Linked DNA regions of Homo sapiens: regions 2, 3 and 4 are each linked to region 1. Evidence: promoter capture Hi-C in 16 types of primary human blood cells and fetal thymus (Javierre and others, 2016). All regions are on one chromosome and are shown on one strand. The core of a region is centred on a gene start or on the middle of the fragment in contact, and the rest is flanking DNA. Distances in the headings are between cores, read along the strand shown. Region 1 holds the start of PCF11 (PCF11 cleavage and polyadenylation factor subunit). Region 2 holds the start of C11orf58 (chromosome 11 open reading frame 58). Region 3 holds the start of PRDM10 (PR/SET domain 10). Region 4 holds the start of LPXN (leupaxin).

The links. The method cuts DNA at HindIII sites, captures the fragments that hold promoters and counts their contacts. A CHiCAGO score of 5 or more calls a contact.
Region 2: a contact is called between the fragment with the promoter of C11orf58 here and the fragment with the promoter of PCF11 in region 1, in 1 of 17 cell types (naive CD8 T cells). The highest score is 5.2, in naive CD8 T cells.
Region 3: the fragment with the promoter of PRDM10 here is called in contact with the fragment with the promoter of PCF11 in region 1 in 2 of 17 cell types (fetal thymus and total CD8 T cells); the score reaches 30.4 in fetal thymus.
Region 4: a fragment that was not itself captured here is called in contact with the fragment with the promoter of PCF11 in region 1 in 3 of 17 cell types (total CD8 T cells, fetal thymus and activated CD4 T cells); the score reaches 10.7 in total CD8 T cells.

What each region holds. Positions count from the first base shown.
Region 1 is chr11:83,155,759-83,158,502 of GRCh38, forward strand. It overlaps PCF11 (PCF11 cleavage and polyadenylation factor subunit), which reads left to right and starts at 1,373. Exons shown (of 16, transcript NM_001346413.3): 1 at 1,373-1,873. The coding sequence starts at 1,682. RefSeq lists silencers at 949-1,028, 2,479-2,538 and enhancers at 1,229-1,278, 1,343-2,132, 1,429-1,678. The HindIII fragment of the contact is 1,033 bases long and covers 423-1,455 here.
Region 2 is chr11:16,737,306-16,740,049 of GRCh38, forward strand. It overlaps C11orf58 (chromosome 11 open reading frame 58), which reads left to right and starts at 1,342. Exons shown (of 5, transcript NM_014267.6): 1 at 1,342-1,536. The coding sequence starts at 1,474. It also overlaps a transcript of SOX6 not described here. RefSeq lists an enhancer at 1,216-1,845. The HindIII fragment of the contact is 4,072 bases long and covers 251-2,744 here.
Region 3 is chr11:130,001,411-130,004,154 of GRCh38, forward strand. PRDM10 (PR/SET domain 10) reads right to left here and starts at 1,425. Exons shown (of 21, transcript NM_199437.2): 1 at 1,312-1,425. It overlaps PRDM10-DT (PRDM10 divergent transcript), which reads left to right and starts at 1,214. Exons shown (of 1, transcript NR_024233.1): 1 at 1,214-2,744. RefSeq lists silencers at 459-638, 669-718, 729-1,048, 1,759-2,148 and an enhancer at 1,559-1,648. The HindIII fragment of the contact is 10,759 bases long and covers 1-1,810 here.
Region 4 is chr11:58,574,750-58,577,493 of GRCh38, forward strand. It overlaps LPXN (leupaxin), which reads right to left and starts at 1,107. Exons shown (of 9, transcript NM_004811.3): 1 at 1,011-1,107. The coding sequence starts at 1,023. RefSeq lists enhancers at 980-1,039, 1,050-1,099. The HindIII fragment of the contact is 1,747 bases long and covers 457-2,203 here.

The sequences.
Region 1 (2,744 bases), core at 123-2,622:
AAGCAATTTTAGGTAATTGACACTTTTTTTTTTTTGAGACAGACTCTCGCTGTCACCAGCCTGGAGTACAGTGGCGTGATCTCGGCTCACTGCAACCTCCACCTCCCGGGTTCAAGCGGTTCTCCTGCCTCTGCCTCCCGAGTAGCTGGGACTACTATAGGCGCACGCCACCACGCCCAGCTAATTTTTGTATTTTTAGTAGAGACGGGGTTTCACCATGTTGGCCAGGGTGGTCTCGATCTCTTGATCTCGTGATCCGCCCGCCTCGGCCTCCCAAAGTGCTGGGATTACAGGCGTGAGCCACCGCGCCCAGCCCGTAATTGACACATTTTAAAAGCTTATATTTAGGTCAATATCGCTACTCAATGAAAAAATTACGTTTGGTTTGTGTTATGTCGCAGCTCCACGGTGAACTATTTGAAAGCTTTGTGTGTTTTACGAGCATCATTTCCAACCTGGGAAGACAGCCCCACAAGTTTAAAACAAAAGTGCATGCGCGTGTGTGTTTTCCTACGTGCCCCAAATAGTGTATGCTAAGGAGGTTCTGAAATGCAGATTCACAGTGGAGATATTACGGTCCAGCTGGGTGTGGCTGTTGTGAAAAACTCTTCCTAGAGCTCATAGTGGGCTCCTTAAAGAGCTCCTCCAAACCCCCAAGGAAAAAGCCTTTCACACTTAATCTCTAAATAAAAGGCATTTTCCTGGGGATTCAAGTCAGGCAAGCTCGCCTAGGTATTTTTGTGGGTGTGGGAAGCGGCGTGCTGGAAGAAACTCTCCAGCAGTGCTTTCCGAAGTTCCGGGTAAATTGGGCACCTCCCTCCCACTTCCCAGTTCCCAGAGGGGCAGCTGGACCCGCCCTGGCTCTCCAGAGCACCTGAGACGCTAAGGGAGAGGGGGTGCGGCGGCAGAAAGCCTCCGCTCCCTCCAACCCCCGCTCCCTCCAACCCCCACCGTCGGTAGCAGCTACGGGGCAGGCGGGAGGAAAGATGATTGACAGGCCCGCTCAGTGGCTGGGAAGCTAGAGGGAGGGACGAAGAGGGGACGGCTGAGTCTTCTTCTCAAAGTGGTTGGGTTGGGCCGCGGGAACTGCCTTCCCAGGCCTATTGGCTTCCCTGAATGGGTTGTTATGGTAACAAATGACCGAACAGTCCCTTATGAATCGGCCAATGAGAAGGGCCGTCTTTTCCAGTGCGCCTCCGAGCAGTAGATGTTGCGAAAGTCCGGGTAGAGGCCGGAGAAGAAGGCGGTGCCAGGGCGTCCTGCGGAAGGGCCGGGGGCGGGGCTCGTGACGTTGCCGGGACAGCCAATCACGCCTGGTTTTATCAGTGGCCCCGCCCTTTTACCGCACATTTCCCCTCCCCTAGTTCATTTCGCACGACGCAGCGGTTGGGAACACAGACATTTTCGGAGCTGGAGCCGCCACTGCCGCCGCCATTTTGTGTCTGTGGAGAAAGAAGCTTCTGTGGCGGCTGGAAGTGGACGGAGATCACCCGCGAGACGGCGGCGTTTCATACCCGAGGTTCCCCCTGTGTCGTCCCCCATCCCCCCTCCGCGGTCAGCATGTGGTGAAGCCGGAGCCGCGAGAGAGCCGGGGAGAGGAAGAGGAGTCGGAAGGGAGGCGGGGTATCCAGAGCGGCTTCAGCTTCAGCTGCAGCGGACCTCGGAGGGGGGCCGCGGCGCAATGTCAGAGCAGACGCCGGCCGAGGCCGGTGCTGCGGGGGCCCGGGAGGACGCCTGTCGGGATTATCAGTCATCGCTCGAAGACCTGACCTTCAATAGCAAGCCGCACATCAATATGCTGACCATTCTAGCCGAGGAGAACCTGCCCTTCGCCAAGGAGATCGTCTCTCTCATCGAGGCCCAAACCGCCAAGGTTTTTATACACCCCGCAGCCTCCTATTACTTCTAATACTCCCTGATTTTAGTGTCAGCCTCATCCCAGGTCTCGCTTCCATCCCAAGGGGGACAGTGTTCCTTCTCTCCAACCCCCCCACCCCCCTCCAACTCAGGCTCGGTCTTTGGCCCAGGCTTCGAGCATGGGCCTCTGGGGGGGAGGGAGTGGGGAGGATAAAGGGTGGAGTCCCACTTCCGCTTTCCAACTCCCTTTTTAGGCCACCGCATTGTATATCCCGACACACACACGCTTTGAATAGAGCCCTTTGGGGTGGGGGAGACTTAAAGGCAGTTTGTGGTTTGGGGAAGTAAGAGTTAACATAAGCCATTTTAATTCCCTGGGAAGTGGGAGAGTGGGTCTCCCATTTTCCCCAAGCACCCTTTTTGGTAATTGTGTTCTGTGGGTTGGAAGGAGGTGAAGGGGGACCTGGGAGCGAGCTGTTGGTGGGTGGGAATAGGGATTTGGCCCCGAGTGGAGCAGCCGCCTGTTAGGAGCCCAACATGGCGCCTGAAAAGCACATGATGCGAAAGGGAAGAGAGGAGAATCCATTCCCTGCCAGCCAGGCAGCTGCTCACTCCCGTCAGCCCCATTTTGGGGTGGGGGCGGCTAGATAAAACTTTTATTCTCCTATTGGAGGGTCTAATTTGTCCCAAAATAGGGGCAAGTGGGGTTGAGGGTGGGGTTTGGGTGGGGGGAGGAGATCTTATCCAACCTGTAGGTGGAGAACTGGCCCAGAGGGTAACAAGTACTTGCAGTTTCTCTGAAAAGTTCAGTCCCTCCTCCTCTTCCTTTTCTCTTTTTCTCCCTTCCCTGATAGCGAAGGAGTGTTTTTCTTTACCCCTTGACAGAA
Region 2 (2,744 bases), core at 92-2,591, about 66 Mb before region 1:
AAGCGATTCTCCTGCCTCAGCCTCCCGAGTAGCTGGGATTAGAGGCATGTGCCATCATGCCAGGCTAATTTTTGTATTTTTAGTAGAGACGTGGTTTCACCATGTTGATCAGGCTGGTCTCGAACTCCTGACCTCGTGATCCACCCGCCTCAGCCTCCCAAAATGCTGGGGATTACAGGCCTGAGCCATGGCGCCAGGCCTAATTTTTGCTTAAAAAAAAAAAAAATCACATTTGTATTCAAGGTGAGAAAGCTTCAGAATTATTAAGGACAAGGATTCTGACAGAAAGTTAAGTTCAGACCTGGTTACAAATTCAGACACCTTAATAAAGTAGGAGATAGTCTTCAGTATCTGAACAATAAATAGCTTTAAATGCAGGGCTTTTTGAGTAGAGGAGTGATCACTTGAATCTGGAGAGAGGGCGAGAAATGGGGAGGGATTGCTAACGGGCATTGGGGTTCCTTTTGGAGTGGTGAAACTTCTTGGAATCAGAGGTGACAGCTGCACACGATTGTGAATGTACTAAGTGACAGTGGATTGTACACTTTTTAAAAAATGGTTAATTTTATATGTGAATTTAACCTCAATAATTACTTTTTTTAAAAAAGAAAAAAAATAGAGGCTTTTGTGGCAGGGATGGACTTTGCTTGGTGAAGGCCCCTACTGTAACGGTGCCCAGACATCCACAGCGAGGTCAGTGAGGAGCACTCCCACCTCACACAAAGCCATATGAAAACTTAACAGATTTCCCTCAGCTAAATCCCCGTTTTCAACAACCGCCAATTAGCCAACATTTAACAACATACTGAACTCATTTCTGTATGGGAAAACAGCGAAATATTCATGAAAACATTTAGAAAGCAGCATCACCGACCACCTAGAAATCCCCTGCGCGCAATAGAGAACACCAGGGTGGAAATGGTAGAAGCCATTTTTGGTTAAGGTTTTTGTCCTGGGTGGAGGGTATTCGTGAGGATTCAGTCAGCCTCAAACATTACATTTAAACATAGGTGCCTAGCTACGATGATACATTTGCCAGTAGGGCAGCGTTGCACGGTGAAAGGCAAAAACCCCTCTAAGCCTCCTCCTGTGGCGACAAAGCTCTCGGCCAACGCTCACCGCCATACACATCCGCGGGAACGCTTCCTCCACCAGCCGAAGGCGGGGCCTCTGAGGGCACTCCCGCCACACAGCGCGAATTGAGCCTCGGGGCTTCCTGGGAATTGTAGTTTTAGTCACGGACACATCTTTTTTATTCGGGCCAGTATGCAATGAATCAGAAAACTACAACTCCCAAAGTGCCCCGGGGCGGCGAGGGGCCGCAACGGTGACGACTGTGGCAGAGAAGGCCCGGAGGGGCTCTGCGTTCTGTAGTGGCGCTGCTTGGGCCCTTGGCGGATTGTAAGCTGCTGGTTTTGCGGCTGGGAAGAGCGGCGAGAGGGTTCGGCATTTTTCGTCGGGATCCCCGCAAGGATGAGTGCTGCCAGAGAGTCTCACCCGCATGGGGTGAAGCGTTCAGCCTCCCCAGACGACGATGTAAATAATAATGGCGGAGTGGCTGAGGGTTGAGGCCTACTAAAGCCTGGAGTAGGCCGGGAAGGGTGGTTGGAGGAGGACGCGCCTGAGGTGGCCTGCAGCGGGAGAGCCCAGGGAAGAAACCAGAAGAATGAGTGGGAAATGCCTCCCTTAATCTTTATGAGGGTCAGAAGGTTTGAAGAGGCCCACACGCTGAGAGCCGGAGACCTGCGTAGGAAGGGGGATTGAGGAAGGAAATTCTGAGAGGGTCGAGGAGTGAAAGAGCTTAGTCAAGGGATTTCGTACGTGCGTTTTGGGGGGCCGATGAGAGTGCTTTCTCGGGCCTTTGTACTCAGTATAGAGACGGCAAGACTCTCCCTGTTTTGGGTTCTAAATGTTCCCGTGACAATGTCGAAATGTTCGTGCACGTTTGTACAGATTTTTCCTGCCTGGATGATTTTTACAATGTGCTGTTGAGAGTTAACTTTAGCTGCACTAGTAAGGGTAAACCGAGAACAGTATTGAGCCGAAAATTGTGCCACGGGTGTAATTTGGTACTGGCTCTGGTGGTGAGGTCTAAGACGTTGAGACCTAGAAGCCCATTTTGATGTCGGATATTAATACCTCGTTCTTCTTACCTCGTCTCCCCATCAAATGCCGTTCCCTTCCTCAGCCCTCACCTCATAGGTTTTAATAGCAAACGGTTTATCCCTTAAAGTAACCCGTTAAATATTTACTGCACTGCCGGGTGTTGGGAATTCGGAGAGAAATATGATGCTTATTTTAGGCCTTTTTGTATATTTGTCCTAGCTCCTAGCCCAGTGTCATGGAAACGGTAGGTAACCAGTAAACGTAAAACTAGGTCCTTCATACAATGGATAAGTGTCTTGGCAACGTTGATGGGGAAAATTGTTGGAGAGAGCGCGGAGAGGTCATCTTTAAGGAAGATGAAGGGATATCTAGGTTTTTTTTCGGTTTTGTTTAAAGTACTGTCAATTTCTGAATACATAGAGCTTTAAATTTTTCGATAGTGCATTTCAACGCTCTTCATAAAATTTTAAAAGCCCACTGAATACTACTTTGTAGCAAATGAGATAATGTTAAGACCTACCCCTCTGATGGGAGGTGGGGCGAGGACCGGAATATTAAGGATCTTTAAAGGAATCGACTTCAGCTCTGCAGAAAGATTAGCAATCAGTAAAGATTTGGGGATGAATGGGCACCTAGAG
Region 3 (2,744 bases), core at 175-2,674, about 47 Mb after region 1:
ATAAAGGTTAAGTACTGCTAAGTTTAGAGAATTTGGGGTGACGAGACAGGCAAGGTTTCAACAGGCAAAGCAGCAGAATTAGGGCACAGGGCAGAGCTGGGTGGGTCTCATCACACATCTAATCCTCGATGACAGCACAAAGCCACCTCTCCTTGTGCTTAAGTGTACACGCACATTGATTGAAAATGCACTAAAATCCAACTCATCCACCAAGCAAGGCTAAAGGCGCGCACACAAATTCAACAGCGCTGCGTTCGCGTGGCTGGAGGGCAGACGGGGAATATTCCATTTTACTTAGTAGAGTATCAACACCTAGCTGCAGGGTTAAACCTGCTTAACAAAAGCTGGCGAGGGGCTGGAGAGGTGCACACCATCAGCCCTCTCCCGAGCGCCGACCGGCCTCGCCCTGCCTCTGCGCTGCACCCTGGGTGCAGGCGGACTGGGGCAGGGCCGCGACCCCGGCCTCGGCCTCCGCCTCCGCCCGGCCAGCCCCGACGCGGTGCCACGGGACAGACCCGCAGGGGCCACCCCACACCCCTGCGGGCCGGCCCCCCGCCCCGGTCCCGGACGCTAGCTTGGGAAGGCAGGCCGGGGGCCCAGCCATCGATGGCAAGTGGGCGGCGCGGCCTCCGCAGACAAAGCTGGGCGCCCCATCGAACAGGACCCTCCGCCCCACGCGCCCGCAACCGGCCAGCCCCGGAGCCCTGCCCGCACTGCCACCCCCAGCCCGGCGCCCGGCCCCCAGCCCCCGGTGCTCGGCTCCCGGCCGGCGGAGACCTGCCCGCCGCGCCCGGAGCGCCCGCGCAACCGCCGCCGCCGGAGCGCGCAGGCCGCCCAACCGCCGTCCCGGCCCAACCAACGCGGGCAGGGGAGGAGAGGTGCGCGCGGCCGGCGGAGCGTGCGAGCCACTCGGGGGTCGCAGGGGGAGGCTGCGCGCGGCGAAGGCAGGGGCGACGAGACGCCGAGGCCGGCGCTGAACGCGGCGCCAGGAGGGCCTGCTGGAGGGGGCCTTGCCCTCTTCCCCTTGGAAGGTGCAGATGGTTTGACCCCCCACCCCGAGTGAGGTGCCTCGTCCCAGCCCCGGCTGGACTGTACCATCGGGCGGTGCCGCCGGGATTTCTCCCCCCCACCACCACCATCAATTCCCCCCCCACCCGGGTCCGCGGTCGGTTGGCCCCGGCCGGGCTCTGAGACGCGGAAAGAGCTGGGCGCCATTTTGGGTGGGACTAAGCAAAGACGAAACACCCTCCCAGTCTATGGGGTAGTCTGGACCCTGGCTTATCTGGTTCCCTTAATCCTTTAGGTACTTACACGACGTTGGGTGAGGGGAGCTGGAAGATCAGCGGGTCCCCGATCCTCTCTCCCTAGGGGTGATAGAAATCAACCCCCCCCGCCACCTCCAGGTGGTTCTTCCCGCCGCAGAGTGGGAGCAGCATAAAAGGCGGGGTCTTATTAGCATAATCTGCCTGGCAACCTGATCTCGACGTTATATGATTGGTTAAACTCTGTAAGCCCCATGCCGTGCCTAGAGACGAGAAACGCTGGGGCGAACTGACAGGCCCAGATTTAGGAGTCATGACGAAGATCCTGAGACGCTTATTCAGTCTGCAGAGAAGCCAAAAGGAGATTCACATAATGGCCCAATGACTGAAGGCCTCTTTATTTCGTGCTCTGCTGTTCGTGTAAAACCCAATCGCAGAGCGGGTCTCAGGCGGCGCTCGCCTGCGTTTCTACTCTCAGCCAATCAGAAAACCCGACTCTTCGCATTGGGGTCAAGCCCCCGCTGCGGCCCGCGTGCTAACGGGGAGGAAGCTTCCAGCTGTGCCTGGGTGTCTCGGGCGCCGAGGGCAGCCTGCGCCCGTGCTAAGCCCGCCTCCCGCGCGCCCGAGGGCCCGGTGTCCCGGAAGACGCGCGGGGGTGAGGCGGCCCTCGCGTCCGCCCGCCCCGCCACAGATTGCCTCCGAAGTGGCCTGGCCGTGGAGCGCCGGCGAAAACCGAACTCCCGCCCGGCTCCCGGAGTCGGGAGCCTGCCGGGGTCTCGCCCTCAGGACCCCCAGGGAGCGGCCGGGCGCCGCCTATCACCCTGACCCACCGCACCTTGAGAGCGCTTTCACTGCGCCTCTTTTTTCTCCTCTACCAATCTGGAAAGGAAGTGAGTGTCATTTCAGACATTGAGAAACATTATTCAACACTGGTTACCCAGTGACTCAGCTCACTCCTTAACCGCAGGCTTCCACATCCTGCTGTCCCTTAAAATTGCCTTCACAAAGGGCAGCCAAGAGCCCAGCTTTGGAGAGATACCCAGCTCCAACTACCCACTGGCAGGCAATACGCAGGGCAGCTAGATGGCAGAGAGACCTTGGACCTTCGGACCTTCGGGGAGCGGTTTTCCCTTCGGTGATATCTACCTTGCTATGTTCGTGATATCTACCTTGCTACGTTATTTTGAAGATTAAGTGAGCTCTTACTTTACCGAGTAAAGTGCTTTGCTTAGCACACTGTCTGGAACTTAAATGAGAAGTACTGACAATATAACTTACAAAAATCCTAAACTATTGCCTGAGAAAAAGAGGGAGACAGGACAGCTAAGCAAAAGACGAGAATAGAAAACACCCACAGCGTGAAAAACTGTAAAATTAACTCAATAGTATTCTCTTTACTGTTTTTTGTTTTGTTTTGTTGTTTTGTTTTTTGATACGGAGTCTCGCTCTGTTGCCCAGGCTGGAGTGCAGTGGTGAGATCTG
Region 4 (2,744 bases), core at 80-2,579, about 25 Mb before region 1:
ACACTACCTTTTTCTCTTCATTAACATCTCTTGCCTCCTGGTAATTTGCCCTTTACTTTTCCTCTGTTTCTCCAGCTTTGAAATCACACGCCATTTTTTTTAAGACAATGTAACAATGTGCAAGATATTTTTTGTTGTTGTTTTTTGCACTTTTGACATACCCTATCCCCAAACACACCCCAAACCAGGACACTGTGGAATTAATACAGTTTGGAAATTGGGTATAGTTTAGTGACTCAGTGTTAGTTAAGATGCTGGCAACAGATGTTGGCAAAGGCTATGGAATGAGTCCCAAGAATGACAAACCTTACATTACTCCAAAGGTTTGAAATCCAGGATTTCTCTGGTTAATATGGTTAATAGTTCCACTGCTGGTTTTAATTGTCTTAGAGTGGAAGGAGGTGTCATATTTTCAGGCCCTAGTAATCTCTTCCTTCAGAATTCTTCTGAATAAAAAGCTTAGCAACAAAATCACTAGAGTTAGAGTGCTATGCCTTCTTGATTTAATACTAAAACATGGAACAAATGAAACCACTCTGGCCTTTTTCCAACCTCTACAGATCCCTCATTCTTATACTTCTAGTCCGTCTTTTCTTCCTCATAACACCCCAATTCCCTTTTTGCTCTTTCTTTTCCTCCTCAAATCATATCTCTGCATTGTCTCGCTATGTGGCCACCCTTGATCTCCAGTGACCTCCAAAGGGCAAAACGCCCATAACAAGACAACAACTGCAGTAACAATCCAGTCCAAAAGTATTTGCCAAGAGTTTATTCCGCGGTTAGCACCAAACTCTCCATCTATTTTGCCACTGCAAACAGTGAACCCATAGTTCCCCAAAACAATCATAGTTCCTCATGCTTCACTCTTGGCAGGGCTGAGGACAGGAAAGAAGTGAAAATAAAATCTTCCATTACTACCCTCAGTCTAGCCAGAAGTATACCCCACCACACAAGGAGATGGCAGCCAAGTCTTCACTCCCTCAGAGTTTCTCCTCAGGCTCCTCACTCACCTAACTCTTCCATTGTCCTACATCCAAGATGCTCTTGTCTCACAGGCCGTGAGGAACAGCTTTGGCATGTGCTGAAGAAGAGGACCGCAAAGGAACTGGATGAGACAGCATAAGGCAGCCTCTATAAACCTTTTTGGTTCCTGTATTTGCTTAGCACTTCCTCTCTTTTGATTTGGTGAGCTTTTTTTTTTTTTTCATAGGTTACACAGTTTTAAAAATGTGACTGACATAGAAAGGTAGATAGTAAGATTTGCATTATGGCAGTGCATTGGCCAGGGTGATAAAGATTCAAAATTAATTTTGCAAAATTTGAGGACCTACTCTGTGCCAGGATTCATCTTGGATTCATGGGAATGGCAGACTTATACTTGCGTTTTTTCCAAGTGTAGGTACCCCACTCTGAGCATCTTTCTTTTTTCTTTTTTTTTTTTCTGTGAAGCTGGGAGACACAGAGGCATAGTCTCCTTCTTAAAATTTGCATCAGAGTTGACCAGCATCCATTTCATTTTGTTGTCTTATTTATTCAGAAATTATGGTTATCTGCTTTCCTGCATGGAACGTAAATCCTTAAAAGTAGGGCAGAAGTGGATTCATGCTTGGATTCTCAGGGCCTGGTTTACTCAGTGGTCCCAAAAGCAAACATCTATAGGGTGGTCACAAAGAAGGAAGCCAGGTTTGACACCAGATGTTAAACTGTGTGCATCTCAATTAAGCATAATCCCTGCCTAGATACACTGCCTTATAGCAATTTCTTTGGAAAGTAACACTGAGGTTAACTCTTCACCTTTTTTACCACTGTGATTTATTCACCTTGAATTAAACATTTACAAAAGGCCTACTATAAAAAAGCAATACGTAAGGAACTATAATTATGGCCCTGTGAAATAGATTTTTTCCCCCTTTTTACCAATGGTGAAATAGGTTCATGTAATAGCAACTTGCTAAGATAATTAATTGGTAGCTTTGCTACTTACTATAATTGCAAAGTCTGGGATCTTTCCTCTACAACACCGTAGCCTTCTTTACTTTTTTTAAGACAAGCTCTCTGTCACCCAGGCTGGCGTGCAAAGGTACTATCATAGTTCAGTGTAACCTCCAACTCGAACTCCTGAACTCAAGCGATTTGCCCTTCTCAGCTTCTGGAGTAGCTGGGACCAGAGGTGCATCCCATCACGCCACCAGGTTAGCTTAAAAGCTTTATTTTTATTTTTTATGTAGAGGGTGGTCTCCCTATGTTGCCCAGGCTGGTCTGGAAGTTCTGGGCTCAAGGGATCCTCCCACTTTGGCATCCAAAAGCGCTGGGATTCCGGGGGTGAGCTACCACATCCAGCCCACAGTGGCTTTTTTTTTTTAGGGAATAATTCATTCTCCATTCCACTGTCTGTACATTTTTTTTTGAAAGGAGATTCCTCCTCTGTATTACTTTGAGCATCCATTGGATGTCAGCACTGTTCCTTCCAAAAGTCTGCTCACTACAAACTCAATCTTAAAAAATTTCCATTGACACTATGCCAATCGATTATTACAACTGAAAATGACATTAGCCCTATGAAAATGGAAAATACTCAGTAGAGAATATAAAACATTTGTCTAATATGAAGTGGTATCTGAGTCAAAGTACTGGAAGGAAAAATGTACTTCAGCACTTGTCTACAGTTTAACTGAATGATTAATGTGAAATTTAAAATTGGATCCCCAGATCTTGTTTCCAGCTTCTTTCTTTTGGGACTTTTA